Linked DNA regions of Homo sapiens: all the other regions are linked to region 6. Evidence: promoter capture Hi-C in 16 types of primary human blood cells and fetal thymus (Javierre and others, 2016). All regions are on one chromosome and are shown on one strand. The core of a region is centred on a gene start or on the middle of the fragment in contact, and the rest is flanking DNA. Distances in the headings are between cores, read along the strand shown.

The links. Contacts are between HindIII fragments. The CHiCAGO score rates a contact against its expected background, and 5 or more counts as called.
Region 1: a contact is called between a fragment that was not itself captured here and the fragment with the promoter of UQCRB in region 6, in 1 of 17 cell types (M0 macrophages). The highest score is 6.2, in M0 macrophages.
Region 2: the fragment with the promoter of DPY19L4 here is called in contact with the fragment with the promoter of UQCRB in region 6 in 2 of 17 cell types (total B cells and fetal thymus); the score reaches 6.1 in total B cells.
Region 3: a contact is called between the fragment with the promoter of RPL30 here and the fragment with the promoter of UQCRB in region 6, in 2 of 17 cell types (naive B cells and total B cells). The highest score is 7.8, in naive B cells.
Region 4: a contact is called between a fragment that was not itself captured here and the fragment with the promoter of UQCRB in region 6, in 1 of 17 cell types (total CD8 T cells). The highest score is 6.1, in total CD8 T cells.
Region 5: the fragment with the promoter of RAD54B here is called in contact with the fragment with the promoter of UQCRB in region 6 in 7 of 17 cell types (naive B cells, fetal thymus, total B cells and 4 more); the score reaches 11.2 in naive B cells.
Region 7: the fragment with the promoter of VIRMA here is called in contact with the fragment with the promoter of UQCRB in region 6 in 7 of 17 cell types (fetal thymus, naive B cells, total CD8 T cells and 4 more); the score reaches 12.9 in fetal thymus.

What each region holds. Positions count from the first base shown.
Region 1 is chr8:97,707,110-97,709,879 of GRCh38, forward strand. The region is part of intron 8 of MTDH (metadherin); the gene reads left to right. Among named protein-coding and RNA genes, the nearest start is that of MTDH, 64 kb to the left of the region's middle. The HindIII fragment of the contact is 8,340 bases long and covers 1-2,770 here.
Region 2 is chr8:94,718,466-94,721,165 of GRCh38, forward strand. It overlaps DPY19L4 (dpy-19 like 4), which reads left to right and starts at 1,435. Exons shown (of 19, transcript NM_181787.3): 1 at 1,435-1,549. The coding sequence starts at 1,534. RefSeq lists an enhancer at 528-1,482 and a silencer at 1,243-1,562. The HindIII fragment of the contact is 11,065 bases long and covers 881-2,700 here.
Region 3 is chr8:98,044,292-98,046,991 of GRCh38, forward strand. RPL30 (ribosomal protein L30) reads right to left here and starts at 1,254. Exons shown (of 5, transcript NM_000989.4): 1 at 1,217-1,254; 2 at 1,056-1,108; 3 at 652-797. The coding sequence starts at 1,076. RefSeq lists enhancers at 1,186-1,335, 1,402-2,338, 1,506-1,565, 1,586-1,635. The HindIII fragment of the contact is 12,210 bases long and covers 1-1,763 here.
Region 4 is chr8:97,646,183-97,648,882 of GRCh38, forward strand. The region is part of intron 1 of MTDH (metadherin); the gene reads left to right. Among named protein-coding and RNA genes, the nearest start is that of MTDH, 3.3 kb to the left of the region's middle. The HindIII fragment of the contact is 1,064 bases long and covers 719-1,782 here.
Region 5 is chr8:94,473,783-94,476,482 of GRCh38, forward strand. It overlaps RAD54B (RAD54 homolog B), which reads right to left and starts at 1,333. Exons shown (of 15, transcript NM_012415.3): 1 at 1,219-1,333. RefSeq lists an enhancer at 1,066-1,295. The HindIII fragment of the contact is 4,488 bases long and covers 625-2,700 here.
Region 6 is chr8:96,234,121-96,236,918 of GRCh38, forward strand. It overlaps UQCRB (ubiquinol-cytochrome c reductase binding protein), which reads right to left and starts at 1,425. Exons shown (of 4, transcript NM_006294.5): 1 at 1,392-1,425. The coding sequence starts at 1,410. UQCRB-AS1 (UQCRB antisense RNA 1) reads left to right here and starts at 1,173. Exons shown (of 2, transcript NR_183275.1): 1 at 1,173-1,441. RefSeq lists an enhancer at 1,152-1,431. The HindIII fragment of the contact is 3,599 bases long and covers 1-1,932 here.
Region 7 is chr8:94,552,123-94,554,822 of GRCh38, forward strand. It overlaps VIRMA (vir like m6A methyltransferase associated), which reads right to left and starts at 1,347. Exons shown (of 24, transcript NM_015496.5): 1 at 1,263-1,347. The coding sequence starts at 1,325. It overlaps VIRMA-DT (VIRMA divergent transcript), which reads left to right and starts at 1,591. Exons shown (of 2, transcript NR_183271.1): 1 at 1,591-1,785. RefSeq lists an enhancer at 1,041-1,660. The HindIII fragment of the contact is 4,366 bases long and covers 413-2,700 here.

The DNA of each region.
Region 1 (2,770 bases), core at 48-2,547, 1.5 Mb after region 6:
AATGATAGGGAGATTTTGGTATAGGGTCAGCAGTCTTTTTTTCTTTTTTTTTTTTTTTCGGAGACAGATTCTTGTTGTGCTGCCCAGGCTGGAGTGCAGTGGCATGATCTCAGCTCACTGCAACCTCTACCTCCTGTGTTCAAGCAGTTTTCCTACCTCAGACTCCTGAGTAGCTGGGATTACTAGCCCGACACTATGCCCGGCTAATTTTTGTGTATTTAGTAGAGATGGGATTTCACCATGTTGGCAAAGCTGGTCTCCAACTCCAGACCTCAGGTGATCCGCTCACCTCAGCCCCCCAAAGTGCTGGGATTACAGGCGTAAGCCACCATGCCTGGCCTTTTTTTTTTTTTTTTTTTTTTTTGAGATGGTGTCCTCAAACTCCTGGCCTCAAGTGACCCTCCTGCCTCAGCCTCTCAAAGTGCTGGGATTACATGTGTAAGCCACTGTGTCTGGCCTGCACAGTCTTTATTAAAAAGCCATACATTCTGATACAGCTAGTCAATTATATAGCAAGTAGCCATAGATGATATGGAAATGAATTTTATTTGTAGGAACTAATGCTGGGCTGTATTTGTAATTTGCCAACCCCTGTTTTAGCATGTCTGTCAATACAAAGGGAAAGGATCCGGAATAAACTAAAAAGTTAAACATAGGCTGGGCACAGTGGCATACACCTGGTAGTCCCAGCTATTCAGGGGGCTGAGGCAGGAGGATTGTTTGAACATAGCAAGACCCCATCTCTTAAAAAAGAAAAAAAAAAAGAAAAAGTTAAATGAGAGGGAAGATTTGACTGATAAAGTAAGGTGCCAGAAGAGGATCAAGAAGCCTTTAACAAGTGGATGGATTGGTCTTTTTTTTTTTTCTTTTTCTTTTTGAGATGGAGTTTTGCTCTGTCACTCAGGCTGGAGTTCAGTGATGCAATCTCAGCTCACTGCAATCTCTGCCTCCTGAGTTCAAGCAATTCTCGTGCCTCAGCCTCCCAGTAGCTGGGATTACAGGCACCTGCCACCATGCCCGGCTAATTTTTGTACTTTTACCATGTTGGTTTCACCATGTTGGTCAGGCTGGTTTCGAACTCCTGACCTCAAGTGATCCACCTGCCTCAGCCTCCCAAAGTGCTGGGATTACAGGCATGAGCCACCATGCCAGGCCTTTTTTTTTTTTTTTTTTTTTTTTTTTTTTTTTTTGAGATGGAGTTTCGCCCTGTCTCCCAGACTGGAGTGCAGTGGCACGATCTCAGCTCTCTGCAACCTCCCCCTCCCAGGTTCAAGTGATTCTCCCTCCTCAGCCTCCTGAGTAGCTGGGATTACAGGCACGCATCACCATGCCCAGCTAATTTTTGTATTTTTAGTAGAGACGGGTTTTTGCCATGTTAGCCAGGCTGGTCTCAAACTCCTGAGCTCAAGTGATCCACCCACCTCGGCCTCCCAAAGTGCTGGGATTACAGGCATGAGCCACCATGCCAGGCCTTTTTTTTTTTTTTTTTTTTTTTTTTTTTTTTTTTTTTGAGATGGAGTTTCCCCGTCTCCCAGGCTGGAGTGCAGTGGCATGATCTCGGCTCTCTGCAACCTCCACCTCCCAGGTTCAAGTGATTCTCCCTCCTCAGCCTCCTGAGTAGCTGGGATTACAGGCATGCATCACCATGCCCAGCTAATTTTTGTGTTTTTAGTACAGACGAGTTTTTGCCATGTTAGCCAGGCTGGTCTCAAACTCCTGACCTCAAGTGATCTGCCCACCTTGGCCCCCCAGAGTGCTGGGATTACAGGCGTGAGCCACTGCCCCCAGCCAGGATTGGTCTTTAAAACAGGATATAGGCCGGGCACAGTGGCTCCCACTTTGCGAGGCCAAGGTGGGTAGATCACAAGGTCAGGAGTTCAAGACCAGCCGGGCCAAGATGGTGAAACCCCGTCTCTGCTGAAAATACAAACATTAGCTGGGCATGGTGGCGGGCACCTGTAATCCCATCTACTCATGAGGCTGACTGAGGCAAAGAATTGCTTGAACCCGGGAGGCAGAGGTTACAGTGAGCCAAGGTTGTGCCACTGCACTCCAGCCTGGACAACATAGCGAGACTCCATCTCAAAAAAAAAAAAAAAACCACCAGATATAATACTAATGGTAGAAGGAGGGGTAAATAAATGTAGAGGAGGACAGTTAACAGGCAATGTGAAAGTCAACAGTGGGGAAAGGGGTTTTAGATTGGACCTACAAAAAGGCTTCTTAGAAGTACAATATCGTAATATATAATACCTTAATACATAGTGATCATTCACATGTTTGTTGGACATTTAACACAATAGAACCCATGAATGGAATAAAGACTTTATCCTACATCATAGGAATTCTTTTTCTGAATATATTCAGAGATTACCTTTTACATTTCTAAGCAAAAGTGAGCTGTCATCAAAATGTTCATCAGTTGGGGAATGGAAAGATGTGATATGTTTATACAATGGCATATTAGAAGTTAAAAATGAACTAAAGCTACATTGTTAGCATTATGAATGGAAACTCAACATGCTGAATGATGAGCAAGTTATAAAAAGATAGAATATGTCATTTATGTAACTTTTTATATGTGGATACAAATAAATTTATAGAAAAATTGATTGGATAGACACAGAAGTTGTTCACAATTTTGGTTACCATTAGGAAGGTACTGTGAAAATGGGATTGGGAAGCGGTATAAAGGAATTTGAAATTTATCAGTAATGTCCTTTTTATTTAAAGATTTAAAATACATTTATCAAAATCTCAACTCTTTCAT
Region 2 (2,700 bases), core at 185-2,684, 1.5 Mb before region 6:
GAGTTCCTGGAGGCCCTGCGTGGTAGCTCATGCCTGTAATCCCAGCACTTTGTGGGGCTGAGGCCGGTGGATCACTTGAGGTCAGGATTTCAAGACCAGCCTGGGCAACATGGTGAAACCACACCCCTCCACTTCTCTACTAAAAGTACAAAAAATTATCCGGGCGTGGTGGTGGGCACCTGTAAACCCAGCACTTCGGGGGGCCAAGGTGGGCGGATCACTTGAGGCCAGGAGTTGGAGACTAGCCTGGCCAACCAACATGGTGAAATCCCATCTCTACTAAAAATATGAAAATTAAGTGGTGGCTTGCGCCTGTAGTCCCAGCTACTGGGAAGGCCGAGGCACGAAAATCGCTTTAACCTGGGAGGCGGAGGTTGCAGTGAACCTAGATCGAGTCATTGCATTCCAGCCTGGGCGACAGAGCGAGACTCTGTCTCAAAAAAAAAAAAAAAAAGTTCCTGGAACCGTTTCTGCACATCACTGAAAAATGATAGCCTCTCCCCAAATATCCTAACTTAAAGGTGCTATTAGGAGAATCTTGCTGCCTGCTAATAATGGGGTGTCCATAATTACCCCATGACTTCAGTGAATTCTCGTGCCTGTTTCTCCCGATCTAAAATGGGTATATTTCATTTACTAAATTTACTTCTGAGTACTGTTGGGGAAAAGATCCCGGTGTTTGTTGAAGAATGCTAGATATAATGAAAGTTAAACACAGTTTAACAAATTAAAATTATTCCCTATTGCTCTGTAATATCTAATTGCACACTGCTCTACCCCAGACCATTGTATTATCTCCCCGCCCCCCCCCCCAGAATATCATGAAATGCAACATATTTGCTAAACCAGTTTTGGTGATTTAAAACAAGTTCCAAGCACAAGCTTCTTTCTTGTAATGGTCAAGTGGCCTACGAAACCAAAGCGCCAACTGAGAACGTTTTGCTGCTGCACTCTGAAATCCCAGCGAGAACGCAGGCAGCGATGGCAGTTCTGGAGCACCGGGTTCCACTTCTGCCTCTGACCGGCTTTGTGACTTCCACCACATTAGATCTGAGTTTCCTCCATGTAAAATGGGGCGGGAATGGAGGCTGGACCTGGGAGGTGTCGCTGATGATCGTCTCTGACTCGCTAAGTCGCGGAGTCACAAAAGTGGCGGAAAGCATGCCCTCACTTTTTGGGAAGAGTAGGACGAGGGGCGGGGCTGCAGCGAGACCCACCAGTCTCGCTTTCCAGGGCAGGCGGCGGCCAGGAGCTACAGCTGTGGGCTGCACTCCCGGCGTGGAGTCTCCTTCCTGCCCGCGCAGGCCCCGGCGCCCCAGCGAAACGCTCCGGCCGCTCCCCTCTCCCAACACTCTGGTTCCCGGGCCGCCTGCGGGGACGCGGTTGGCGGCGACACCGGAGGGGGGTGGGTCAGGAAGTGGGGGCGCGGCGGCCAGGAGCGGGCCCCCGGAGGCCGAGGGGTTCGGCGACGCGGAGGGAGGGAGAGTCTGGGCCGCGCGGGAGCCGCAGGGCGCCCTAGCCTTCGCAGAAACGATGGCGGAGGAAGAAGGTGATTGCCGCGGGGTCCAGCGCGCCAACGGCTGCCAGTGGTCTCGGGAAGGAGGGGCGGGGGCGCTGGAGGTCTGGGTTGGAGCTGCTGGTGGCCGCGGTCGCGGTGGCGGCCGCGCGGGCAGGGCGGGAAGGAGCGCGGCGCCCAGGAGAGGACTGCGGAGAAATTCAGGAGAGCGGAGCAAATGGCCCGAAGTTTTGTCGGCCGAATTGGGAAGCAAAGGTGGAGCTGAAAGTTGGGAATCCGTAGCAAGAGAGAAAGCTGTGCCGGGAGTGGTTGGGAAAGAGGGAGGGTCCTGATCAGATTCTTGGTGAAGTGGGAGGCGCAGTTTGGTTTCGAAGATCAGGTTTAGGTACTCAGTGCATATTTGGAATGCGATTTTTAAAGGGCTGTGGATATTGACAAACCCAGAGGCACAGGGGGCGAGGGAACATTCACCACGGGGATAAAGAGGCAGGGATTTGGGATAAACGTGGCAAGATTAATTGGGAATGGGCGAACACGCAGAAACTGAAGAAAGCCAAGTTCACTTAGGTTCAGGGGAAAATGGTAAAGAGCAGAGCCATCTAATTATTATAGTTTTGGGAGATGATGAGGCCAGGAGGCCTTTGAGGGTCAAAGTGGGTGAGCTGGAGAAAGGTTTCCATGCCGCCTTCAGGATCAATGCTAAGATAAGTAATTCATTCAGCAGTATTTTATTTATAGAAAATGATAAGTATGAGACAAAAATGGGAAGTTAGATGAAACTTATCGGTTAGTGATAAACAATACAAGGAATACTCATGGCATAGTAACTTCATGATAACCCCTACTAGTTTCAGGAAGTGAGAAGCAATTAGATTTTTGCATTCTGGTGGAAAACACAACTTTTTACCTTATGAGTGGAGCTGTGGATGTGATAGTAAATCGATCTAATTTAGACTCAAGCCCCCCTGCCTTTTTTTTTTTTGAAACGGAGTTTCGTTCTTGTTGCCCAGTCTAGAGTGCAAAGGCGCGATCTCGGTTCACCGCAACCTCCGCTTCCTGGATTCAAGCGATTCTCCTGCCTCAGCCTCCCTAGTAGCTGGGATTACAGGCATGCGCCATCACGCCCGGTTAATGTTATATTTTGAGTAGAGACGGGGTTTCTCCATGTTGGTCAGGCTGGTCTT
Region 3 (2,700 bases), core at 4-2,503, 1.8 Mb after region 6:
ACAAGACAGAAAGGGCCCTCCAGGCTTTGACGGTAACTACAGACACCCTATATAAAATGCTGTAAGCAGCTTATGCATCACCACAGAAAATTTGCTCACATAGCTTATACTCTGCAAGGTCCAAGTTTGTTTGGCTTATTTACAACACCCCCTAAGTTCAATTTCAAAACAGTGAGTCAAGCATAAATCTTGACTCAGAACTGATTTAGCGGGCTAAACTAGGTGATTCTATGATAGCCTGCAACTCCATAGCCCAGCCTCAACTTTTCTTACCTAGTTTTTTGACACTAAAACAAGTTCACACAATGAAGCATCATTAAAGCACCTCAAAGCTAAAAGAACCAAAAAAGCAGGACACAAAATACATGGAAAAAACAGTAATGTGTCTGTGTTTCCATTAAACCTCGATGTTCTGTTTTCACTCCTGCCACACACACACATTTCTCCTCCAAAAATAAGCTCACAGAAGGGGAGCACACGATTTGGGGGTGGGTCGGGGAGACGGGAATGAAGGGCCAAACACCACAATCGCTACCGTAATTATCCTGCAAGTGTTCGAGTTCATGGTACTCAGATTACAAGTTTACACTCCTGTATATTCGTTCACGATGAATTCGCGGTAGGCGAAGCCCGTTCAGTCTCTTCGATTACCTCAAAGCTGGGCAGTTGTTAGCGAGAATGACCAATTTCGCTTTGCCTTGTCTGATCATCTTCAGAGTCTGCTTGTACCCCAGGACGTACTTCCCACTTTTCATAACGAGTTGGAGCCTAGAGTTGATCGACTCCAGCGACTTTTTCTACAAAGCAAACATTAAATACGGACCTAAGGGCCTCGCCTGCAACCGCCTCAAAACCGGACCCAGCTTTTTGAAGCCGAGCCCCTTAAACTTCCGAAGTCGAGGACCCCAAGTCATTGAGAGGGCCACTGGGATTCCTTCTGGGGCCCTCCAAATGCCAGCAGGCATGCTGTCACCCCCGTGGGCTCACATCTGCCCGCCCTGGCCAAGACATCTCTCCACGTGAATCGTCTTCCGGGCCTGGCCCGCCTCACTCACCGTCTTCTTTGCGGCCACCATCTTCCTGCCTTAGGAGCGGGACGGCCCCCAACCTAGAAGAGACAGAGAACAGGACAGGAATTTTAGGATCCGGAGTTACAAATGGCAACCCGCAAAGCTCCCCGCGCTGCCTAAACCTCGGTCGGTAGGAGCCCACTCACCAACAGCAGCCGCTAAGATGGCCGGGGAACGAGAAAGGAAAGACTTCCCACAATGCAAAGCTCTTCACGGCAGAGCCGGAACTGCGGGACCGGAAGCGGAAACAGATCGCAAGCAGAAGGGGCGGAGCAAAAGCGGAGGGCAGCTGCCGGTTGCTATTGGTACCGCTAGCTAGAATGGCTGCGGGGGCCGTACGCGGCTGCTCATACCTTTAATCCCAGCACTTTCGGAGGTTGAGGCGGGAAGATCTGTTGCGTCCAGCTCAAGGCCAGCCTGGACAACATAGACCACCCCTGTCTCTACAAAAAAATAAAAAAGAAATAAAAAAGAAATTAGCCGGGCGTGGTGGCGCGCTCCAGTAGTCCTAGCTACTCCCAGCTACGCCGGAGGCTGAGGCGGAGAGGTCGCTTGAGCTCGGTAGGTCGAGGCTGCAGTGAGCCATGATCGCGCCACTGCACTCAGCCTGGGCGACAGAGTGAGACTCTGTCTCAAAGAAGGAAAAAAAAGAATGACGGCGGGGGTGTTCTTTTCCCCCTCTGCGGGCCTTTAAGCTTCGCGGCGTTGTGTTGCTGTTCTGCTGCGAGCTGCGGTCTAACTAATCGAGGCGCTTAGAACCCGGAGGGAGTTCGAAAAGCCGACTGAAGGTGAGGTGGGAGGGTAGATGAGAAGAGGCTGCGGCGGCTGCGACCACGGTCTCAATGCCGCTGAATTCATCTTTGTCCTGAGGCGCGGCTCTTGGAGAGCCTTGTGGGTGACTCCGATGCGCCGCAGCACCCGCATTTACTCTCCGCTTGGTAGAAGCAGCTGTGTCCTCACCCCTGCGGTCACCCAAGTTACCTGTCCCCTGGAGAACGGTGGCGCCCTGCTCGAGTTTCCCAAAACTCGCCTTTTGTGACTGTGTTAGCGTGAACTTGTGAGCCGAGTTTGCACTGAGAGCGCGATAAACAGGTCTAATTTTTTAAAAGTATTTTTGCTGTTAACGTTGGATCTTGGTATAAATGTCCAGAGACAGACCACTGAAGATATTAGGCGCTGAAAATCCCCACCTAATCAATCAGACCAGTGGATAAGCTATATGAGGGAAACCTCTTCCCCTCCTTAATTAAGCCTCACCAAAAAACGCGTGCTGTACCAGGAATCATTTACATATATTTATTTAATACTCACAAAAGTCCCATGAGATAGTAACCTTTTTATTGTCCATTTTACATATCTAGGCCTATTGTCAGAGCTAGGACCAGAGCCCAGGTAACTTAGGTCTCTTCACAATTAAAGTTGATTCAGGCCGAATGCGGTGACTCACGCCTGTAATCCAAACATTTTGGAAGTCCGAGGTGAGCGGATCACCTGAAGTCAGGAGTTCGAGACCAGTCTGGTCAACATGGTGAAACCCCACCTCTACTAAAAATACAAAAAGTAGCCAGGTGTGGTGGCTCCTGCCTGCAATCCCAACTACTTGGGAGGCTGAAGCAGGAGAATCGCTTGA
Region 4 (2,700 bases), core at 1-2,500, 1.4 Mb after region 6:
ACAAACTCTAATCTCTAGATTAGAGATGTGACAGGTCACAGTTAGTGCATTATGAGGCCTGGATAGGCCTTCACGTTTTGCCTGCTGATTAAGAGATGCAAGATACATATGAAACCTGGAAAAGGCACAACTTTGTCAATGTGAATACTACCATAAGTTAGGAGAGGAGAAAATAGAACTGATTTGGAACATAAATAATTTAAAAATTTGTGGAGACTATCAAGAATTACCAATTATCAAAGTAATGTTATGGTGAAAATAGAGAACCTTGCTCCAAGGTAAGGAAAGAAGGTGATCTTGAAAGAAACACATTCAGCACAAACCCATGTGGATGAAGCACATTGTGAAAATTTCAAAGCCCTATTTGGGACATCTAGAAATTTCAGATAAACTTGAGTTGAGAGAGACAGGTTCTCCAAGAACCCATCCGACATGCGTTATAACACTCAAATGACTCATCTGAAAGAATACAGATTCCGGCGAATGCTTATACATTACTGTGAAAAATGCTCAGTAGACTTAAAAGACTTACCCCCTCATTTTCATTCGAGTTAAGGAAGTGGGGAGTAAATAAGTAAACCTAGCGTTAGCTTTGAGGAGTGGAGAATGGGAAGACTGTATGGCTGAATGTTAATTGGGTGAGGAAGTATCCTTATCTACCAAATATTGAAGATGTATTCGAGAAGTTTAACCAACATTTACAAAATTGTGACTTTCAAGCTTTTCTGACTGCAACCCACAATAAGAAATACATTTTACATTACATTACACACATAAAACTGTTCTGTTTTTCTTTAATGTTCATGACCCACTAAATTCATTTCACATTTGACTGTGAGGCATGACCCACAGTTATGGGGTAGCTTTACAGGGCAAAGAAGTACAAGCTGCCGTTTGGTACTCATTAGATACCTTTAACTGTGCTAAGTATTGAAGAAAAGCAAGATACTGCTTACAAATTGAAGGCGGTGAAAAGGCATACAATATGGGCATATCTCTCTGTGACAGGGATACAAAGGTTAAAGCTCAGTTTCTCCCCAGGGAGCTTTTTGTTTCAGTCGTGGAAAAAGATATACTTAAGAAATTAATGATACAACTGGATGTGGACCCAGGTGGGCGTGAAAGGCCTTGTCACAGAAGCTGACTTTGAAAGTGGGTAGGAGTCCCCCAGGAATTCAAGAACGACCTGGGCAATATAGTGAGACCTCATCTCTACAAAAAATTTAAAAAATTAGCCCAGTGTGGTGGTGTGCACCTGTAGTCCCAGCTATTCTGGAGGCTGAGGTTGGAGGATTGCTTGAGCCAGGAGGTGGAGGCTGCAGTGAGCCAATTCGAGGCCCTGTCTAAAAAAAGGGGGGAAGGGAGGGCAGTAAGAGCAAGATAATGTGAGAGGCCTGAGAAACAACAAAGGCCCAGGATTGAAAGAAGACAACTCTGTCAGCCTGGCAGGAATGGGAAACTCTAAACTTGAGTAAGGCATTTCACCTTGCTCTGTTCAGTGTATCTTGTTTACAAATTGGAAATCTTAGTTGAGTTAAAACACTGCAGTATTCTTCAAAGTGTTATCCCTGGCTACTTGCAATGAGTCACTTTGAATGCTTGTGGAAATGCTTGGGCCAGGCACAGTGGCTTATGCCTGTAATCCCAGCACTTTGGGAGGCACTGTTGGGAGGATCACTTGAGCCTAGGAGTTTGACGCTGTGATGAGCTATGATCAGGTGACTGCACTCCAGCCTGGGCAACACAGCAAGACTCTGTCTCCTAAAAGAAAAAAAAAAAAAAAGCTTGTAGATTCCTGATCTCTGATCTTTTCGTTCCATTATTTTTAGCTTTCTCTTAAATCACTCCAAATTTTGCGACTCCTGTTTTCAAATTTTTCATTTGTAGAGTAAATAGTGGCGAAATCTGTATTTACCTCAACCTGTTTATAAGCAATTTCTGAAATTATTTTATCAATTTGTTTTTTATCCCCTAATAAAACCATGCCATAGATCTTTTAGGGTATGAATTACAGTTTGTTCCCTAATTAAAAGTGAGGGGGGCCACTTTTTACTGGGCTCAGTTCTTGGCATTTTTTCTTTTCCCCCCCACCCCTGTTCCTGGCATTTTTGGAAATTATTATCTTGTATGTATTTTTCATGACATCTACCTCAAAGTCTGTATTAAATGGGCACTCAAGTATTTTTTCACTTGATTTTTAATCTGAGTAATGACTTAGATTGAAGTGAAGTCTGCGAAAACTGGTCTGTAACAATTGGCTTTGAATTTCAACTGGAAGCACATAATCAGGATTAATATCAAAGAAAATTGTCTTTTTTTTTTTTTTGAAACAGTCTTGCTCTATTGCCCATGCTGGAGTGCAGTGGCGGTTATAGCTCATAGCTCACTGCATCCTCAAACTCCTGGCCTCAAGCCATCCTCCCACTTTGGCCTCCCAAAATGTTGGGATTACAGGCATGAGCAACCTCACCCAGCTCAAAAATTTATTTTAGTGGACAAGTTATTTGCATATTAGTGTAGGAATGTTTATAAAGATTTGCTATAGTGTAATTGCCATATCTCTAAGCTCAATGAATAAAATAATAGTGTTTCCTTTTGTTTGCTACCAGATAGCCTTGCACAGTGCTTGGTACTCAAAAATAATTATTGAATGCATAATATAGTAAGATGTCCAACAAAAGTATTTATACAGCTTACTCC
Region 5 (2,700 bases), core at 83-2,582, 1.8 Mb before region 6:
TTGTCGACTTCCAACTACATTAGGTAGTAATTATTTCACTTCATGCCTTAAATTGCTCCTTTGAGACTCCGGCTATATAGATGGTTCCTAATTTAGGACGGTGTCACTTAGAATTCTTCGACTTTTAAGAAAGCCATGAGCATTCAGTAGAAACTGTACAAGTAACCACACAACCGTCTGTGTTCATGATTTTGCCCAACTGTAGATTAAGGTAAGTGTTCTGAGCATGTTTAAGGTAGGCTAGCGCAGCCATAAAAAGGAATGAAATCATGTCCTTTGCAGCAACATGGGTGCAGCTGGAGGCTATTATCCAAAGCGAATTAAAGCAGAAACAGAAAATCAAATATTGCATGTTCTCACTTATAAATGGGAGCTAAACATTGGGCATTCATGAACATAAAGATGGCAACAATAGACAGTGGAGACAACTAGAAGGGAGAGGAAAGGAGGAGCAAGGGTTCAAAAACTATTGGGTAACATGCTCACTACCTGGGTGACAGGATCAATCGTATCCAAACCTCAGCACCACGTAATATACCGATGCAACAAACCTGCACATGTACCCCCAAATCTAAAATAAACAGCTGAAAATAATTTTTTTGATAACAAAAGTAGGCTAGGCCAAGCTTTAATACTCAGTAGGTTAGCTGTGTTTTAAATCCATTTTCCATTTGGGATATTTTCAACCCCGTAGTAAGTCGAGAAGCATCTGTTCCTACCTAGAAAATCTTCCATAAGGTAATCGATTAAAAGGTTTTAAGGAAATACAAGAAAAACCTGACCAGTGAAGAGGTAAAAGCCCCTAAAGAAGGCGTACCGACACTCTCCAGGACGCTCGCAGAGCCTTCACCCCCTGGCCCTGGGGAAGGAAATTCCCAGTGCAGGAGTGAGGGAGAGACCCAAAAGCCAAGAGGAGCCTGCGCAAAGCGACCGCAGTGGCGGCCCCAGGGGCCACTGCCCAGAACCATCCCTCCCACACAAACGCACAACCCTAAACCCCCACCGCCCGCCCTTCGCTCCAAGGCCCCCGGGGCCAGCAACCAGGGCGTCCCTGGCACTTCAGACCAAAGCTGCAGGCCCGCAGAAGGCCACTTCGGTCGCTCCTGCCGCCTTCCCTCCCTCCTCCCTCGTTGGCCTGCTCCGGCGCCACTCCCTGCTTTGTCCCGCACGAGCCTACAGGCTGTCGCAGCCTCCCGAGCTTCCCCCTGCAGGACGCACCGGCGAAAATCTGACAGAAACCACTGGCCCTGCAAAGAAGTCCTTCTGGTAACCAGCTATCCCCTCGCCGCCGGAGAAGCTCAAGGATCCCGCCTCGGCGAAGCCAATCGCGGACGAGCCCGCCGCGCGTGCGCACTACCTAGCCGCTGCACTGCCCTGTCCTGCCCTACTCTGATTGGACGACCCTACTGCATCACTGCGCATGTATCTTTGCGTTTGGCTTTAAATGCTTCCAAGTTTGATTCAAGTTTACGGTTCAATTAAAAAAATACTGGTTTAGTGCCTACTTTCAGACACAGTGTAGATGCCGAGGCTACAGACCTCACCATCTGCGTGGATAAGTAATAAATACGGTATGATTCGGTGTGTGCGATAATAGAAATGCGTGCATCGCAGAAGTATACGATATCCTATTGGTTATTCATTCATCCGAAAAAACATTGACTTAGCGGTGCCTGCAGGATAATTTTCAAACTCTTTGTTAGGTTCTGGGAATATAGAAACGAATACGTGATTATTAGGCTCTCAGAAAAGGGGAGCCGCCTCCGGACTTGGAAAAGCATTAAAGCATGTTAAGTAGGAAAGTTACATCATTCAATGAGTATTTACTGAGCACCTTCTAAGTGCTAGGCGGTAACACAGTCAACTATCCCTGAAAAATGGTATTAGAAAGGCTAATCTGAAAGGAGAGAGAATGGCTAAAGGTTGTTTATTGAGTTTTATCCAGCAGTTTGACAAAAAGTAAAAGCTAAAAAATATCAAGGGTGAAATGAAGATGTGAAACAATGGGAACTCTTGGGCTGCTGGTAGGAGTGTAAATAGGTACAGCCATTTAAAAGAGTAATTTGAGGCTGAGAGCGGTGGCTTGTGCCTGTAATCCCAGTACTTTGGGAGGCCGAGGCGGGCGGATCACTTGAGGTCAGGAGTTCGAGACCAGCCTGGCCAACATGGTGAAACCCGGTCTGTACTAAAAATACAAAAATTAGCTGGTTTTGGTGGAGCGCGCCTGTAATCCCAGCTACTCAGCAGACTAAGGCGGGAGAATCGCTTGAACCTGGGAGGTGAAGGCTGCAATGAACCGAGATGGTGCCGCAGCACTCCAGCCTGGGCAGCAGAGAGACCCTGTTTCAAAAAAAAAGAGTAATGTGCTTAAGGAGCTTTTATCCTGGGGACTTTTTCCAGTCATAAAGAGCACCTCATAGGTTGAGTTGTGCTTTTGGCAGCTCCTGGAGCCAGCGTTACAAGAATTTGAAATGGGGACCTGCCAAGGTTGGGCACCTTAGTAAACCGCACCCCCCTCTTCTTTGGACTGGGACACATAAAGAGTAAGGGTAACCAGAAAACAAGCTAGCTTCATAGTGTCTGCAGCCTACCTTAATATCATCTGGGGAGTTCAGAAAATCTAAAACAGATTGGCTAAAGGTGACCTGGGACATTCCTCTTGCAGATTTGCATCTGGTTTGATCCTTCACTTCAGATCAT
Region 6 (2,798 bases), core at 175-2,674:
AAGCAAACTCTCCTTTCACTCAACTCTCCTTGCTTGCAAACTCAGTGCACTACAGATTACGTGGCTTTAGCAAATCTCCTTGGAAATTAAGAGTCATGTATAAAACTGCTGCTAGAAAAACAAGTATCAGTCAACAATCTACAAACATACTTGTGGAAGACAGATTATATTCAACCACCTATCAGTGACTATAATAATATTCACTAAGCACTTATTGTGCACCAAACACTTTCCTATTTGCTTTACCAACATTAGCTGATTTATTTACATGTCTGTTACTACAGAAGGGGAAGCTGGCTTACAGAAGTGATCCCACCCAAGGTCAGAGTTAGCTAATGGGAGTTGAGATCTGGTCTATGTAGTTCCCAAACACGCACAGAAGCAGTGTCTTGAATTTAGTAAGACTCCTTCAATATCTGCCAAATTAATAAAATAATTATTTAAAAAGTCTCCCCCACCCCCAAAAAGCTCAATGTCAATTAGGTTAACGGATGTTTCTGGCAACCTGATGTTTCCTAACAGCTTCACAATTGCTGGGGGCGGGGAGAAAAGGATCAACATTTTTTAAGCTACTCCAACTTGGTTGCATTGCAGTGAGACGAGATTGTGCCATTGCACTCCAGCCTGGGCGACAAAGCAAGACTCCGTCTCAAAGACAAAACAAACAAACAAACAAAACGGCTACTCCAACTTGTACCGCCAGAGGGCAGAGATTAGCAAAAAAAAAAAAAAAGAAAGAAAAAAGAAAAAAAGAACCTACAATAAATTCAAATTTCTCCAAACCTACTGATCAAGCTGACGCTCTAGATAATCCAAGGTCAACCTGAAGCGTCGCTCGTATCCCTTGCTCAACTGTCTCTGATTCGCAGTTTGAGAAGCGCGAGGGGTGCAATGATATTTCCAATTCTACTTCCTTGGGTCACTTTGCCTCAGTTATCTTATCAGCGTAAAAGGGAAATTAATATCTCCCTCGTCGCAATGGCAAGAAAATTTATAGGGCCAATGCACACGATAGAGCACTTGGGTCATAGAAAGCACTGAGCTCATTCGGGTTGAAAGTCATCCACTAGTTATCCTCTTGTGCCCTTTAACTTTTCTAAGGCCAAGGGGAAGGACTTCCAAGCACGGGCAGCTGGAACTCCAGGGCTGTCAGAGCCACCGCGGGCACCTTCACAAACAGCGGGTTAACATCCCAACCCTATACAGGCAAGCCCGCCCTGGGGACAGCAAACGAGTGGGGAAGCACATCCTTTTCACTGGACTGAAGCAGCCAATTTCCCTTCCGCGACAAACTTGGCCACTTACAAAGAAGAGAGAAAACGGAGCAAGCTGCAGCAAAAATAAACGGTGAAGCGCGACGATGCCGGCCAAGAAGACCCCCAGTTACTTACCGGCCTGCTTACCAGCCATTTTGACCAGAAAGAGAAGCGTTGCCTTCTGGGTAAGTCATAGAGGACAAGCTGGGCCCAGTCCGCAGGCGCGTTACGTCACATCGCGAACAGAGAAAGGCCGCTTGCGCAGGCGCAGTTCTGACGACTGCCGTTCAGCACCTGCGTAAGCACCTCTCGGCCAGGGTGAGGCCAATGGAGTAGGCGGGGCATTTTGCGTGCTACATTCTAAGAAGTATTGGTTGTGATGTGATGGGAAGAACACAGGTCAGGAATTAGGAGACCAAGGCTTAAAGCTGGGTTCTGTTATTTGCTGTTAATAGCTATGGGAGCGTGGACAGTATTAATTCAGCTCTTTGTGCCAGGCAGGAAGCTAAATGTTTTAAGGGCATCGTCTTACTTTCTATTGAAGGACTGATGGATGTGCCATCCCAAAAATATATGGAATTGGTACATTGATTATTTCGAGTTGAAAATATTGGAGAAATTGTAGTTTCAGAAAAGGTTTGATGACCTATCTCTTCCTGCATGCAGCAAGCCATAAAGCTTCCTCCAGGATTCCTCTGGAGTACCCGTCCCTTACCAGAGGGAGAAAATAGCACCTATCACCAGAGACGAAACTGGGGGCTGCTTTGGACCTGAATATACTTTCCGAAGTAACCGTTATCTTCCACTAAGTTTACACCCCAACACACACACTTTTCTCCTAATGACTCCGCGAGAAATTTACTGCCCCTAGCCAGATCCCCTTTCTTCTGATTTGTAGTTCGTGTAAAAAGTATAAAGGCATCTTACATTGGCCACTTCACTCTTTTGTGCGGATCCCCATGTACATGTAAAACTAGTAAAATTAGTATGCTTTTCTCTTGTTAATCTGCCATGTGTCAATTTGGTTCCTAGATTCAACCAAAGAGCCCACATAAGAGCAAAGGGGAGGGAGGGTTGGAGGTGATCTCTCACTCCCCTAAACTATCTTTTAATTCTAAAAGTACTGTAATTATCTCATTGTAGAGAGGAGAAAGCTGAGGCTCAGAAAGGTTGAATAACTTGTCCAAGAGCACATGACTAGAAGAGTCCAGGTTCTTCTTCCAGAATCTGAAAATCCAGATGCAAATTTGGGGCTCCTTAATTCTAGGGTCATATGCTATACTGCTACACTACTAATCCAGGAAAGACACCAAGCCTTTCAGGCCTTGGGTTTCTCCAGCTGAAGATCTATATCTAGCTATTTTAGTGGAAGGTTAGGTCAGAAAAGGTTTTGGGTTTTTTTTGTTTGTTTTTTTTCACCCTTTTTTTTGTTGTTCAGCCTCTGTCACCCAGGCTGAATGGCACAATCTCGGCTCACTGCAACCTCTGCCTCCTGGGTTCAAATGACTCGTGCCTCAGCCTCCTGAGTAGCTGGGACTACAG
Region 7 (2,700 bases), core at 97-2,596, 1.7 Mb before region 6:
TATAGTCATTGAACAAACAGTGCTAACTGACCCACATTAAATGTCAGACCATAAATTAACTGTCAGTAAGAAATGCTAACTCAAAGTTCTCCAACTTTTGACTTTTACAAACCTATAAACCATTCGTTAAATTAGATCACAGCTGTCAACTTTTTATTTTGCCAAGTAAAGCATTATGATACAATCACTACCCACTATCATTACTATCTCATAAAAGAAAGAACATTTTAAACATTTTCCATTCAAATATTTATTGAGCACCTACATTTTGCTAATACTGTCCTAGGCACTGGAGATACAGCTGAGAAAAAGAGAAATTATATCTGTCCTCAAAAAGCTTGATACAAGAGCACACTTGATAAAAATAAAAGGAAAAAAATAATCTCCAAAGAAAGAACAGTTCTCTAAATTAAGCTTACATTAAGACAGAAAAATGTGAAGTTCGTTTTTTTTTTTAACAATTTCTCCGTAGACTTCATTCAAGTTCATTTTTGGTCTGCTTTCAGGAATCTTTAGTTAACCAGCTATGTTTAATCTACATATTGCAGGGCCAATTGTACATTAAGGGGCGCTCAAGTAGTTTTGTACAGAAATATTACTCCACAACATTCCACCTCCAACCTCAAAGGAGATGTCTGCTGATGAGTTTAACTATAATTCTCTCAACTCTCCCCTCTTCGCAAGTATTCTCCGTGAATGCATCTCATTCCTAATGTGTGAAATCTCTCCGAGAGACAAGTATTAAAGTTTCAGGCCAAATCGGAGAGCACCGTAATCCTAAACCAAGTAAGTGTCACAACTGGGGAACATAATTCCCGACAGAAAAGAGGCCAAAGAGAAAGGATTTAGAAACATCGTGATTCGGAAACCACGAAGCCAACGTAAACTGCTCAGACTCCGGCACTACTGTCAAACACTACTGGCAAACCAAGACCCCTCCCAAACGCCATCTGAGGTAAACCTGAGAACCCTGATCCTTCTCAAGGCCCAAACCTGACAGGAAAAATAAAAAATAAAGCCATGCAAGCAGAAAAGCCAACTCGACCAAAGACACGGAGGGCCCAAGTTAAAGCAAGGAAATGAAGGGGCTGCTGCAGCCCTCCCTCAGACGCGATGCTCACACAGCTCGGGGGAGGGTGTCTGTGTGTAAGCGAGAAATTAAAGAAGCAATCTGCAGAAGGAAAAGTGGAGAACGCCTAACGGTTTTTTTGTAAAGATCCCAAGTCAAGAAGCAGCGTCAGAATCAAGTCGCCAAGCCTTACCTCAGCGCTCGGGTGTTTAAAAGTATCTAAAAATAACAGCTCCATCGCCGAGTCCACCGCCATGTTTGCCGCGGGCGGGGAACAGGGGGGAGGACTTCCGGGGCAGCGCTCCAGCCTCCGCGACAGCGACTCAGGAGAGGGAGAAACAGAGGGACTTCCGGTGACCAGAGCACTAGCGCCGCAAACCTCGGCCTATCCCAACGCATCTTGTTGCCCGGAGTTGCCGGCCCCGCCTTTTCCAGCGCGGCGGAGGGCGCCCCCTAGAACGCAGAGGGGGGGCAGAGGGAAGTGAGATGGGGACTACGGGGTCTCCAGTGGTTCAAACCCTGTCGTTCCTCCGCGTTACAGAGCTACAGCGGTCTCCGGGTGGCGAAGTGCGGAGACGGGGTTTTGGAGACGGTGGATGGAGGAGGGGGAGGGAAAGCTGCCAACTTTGGATACCAACCCCGTACACCCACCGAAGGGGATGTCCCACTTTTTCCAGCGCTGGGAGCAAAAAGATAACAGTGAGCGAGGTTGAAAAGTAAGACATTGATTTAAATAGAAGAAAAACTGTTGTTTCAACCAACGAAGAGATTCTTTGTTTTCTTATCTGTAAAATGTGAAAAATCGTACCTAACCTACAGGGTGATTGTGAGGAGTAATTGAAATAAAATTCGAGGAATTGTGTAACGTGAAGTACCATGAACAATAAAACAGGAGGCAGAATGAAAAGTAAGCCTCTCTGTCGGGTGTTGATGAGCTTTGGAGCAACGAGATAAACTCAGCGGGTTTGGTAGTCTAAATGGCACAAACCCTTAGCAGAGCAACTAGGAAATAGCTTGTAAAATTACACGTGCCTACCACTCTTCTAGGAAAATTCTCGCCCACGTATCTACAAATACAAGAATATTCATAGCAAACTTTATAAGTTGCAAAAGAGCAGGAAACATAAGTGCCATTGACAGAAGTAATAAGTAAATAGTGGCGTATTTATATAATAGTATATAGCAGGTACGAAGAATGAACCAGTGCTATGTTTACTAGCATGAAAAACCCAAAAAACAGGGTTGGTGGGCGCTTTGGCTCACGCCTGTAATCCAGCACTTAGGGAGGATGAAGCGGGAGGATCGCTTGAGCCCAGGAGTTGGAGAACTGCCTGGGCAATATAGCGAGACCCCGTTATTCACAAAAAGAAAAAAAAAAGACACAAACCAAAACAAAACAAGTTTAACTCCTCTCATCGCAAGCCGGGTGCGGTGGCGTGTTCCTGTGGTCCCAACTTCTCGGGAAGCTGAGACAGGAGAATCTCTTAAGCCCAGGAGTTGGAGGCCAGTGGGGACACCCATCTCTTAGAAAAGGAAATAAAAAATATATAGTGTAAAATAACATCTATATATTTAAAAACGTGCAAAAGAATATAAAATTTTAGGAGTGTACATATGTCATGAAATTATAA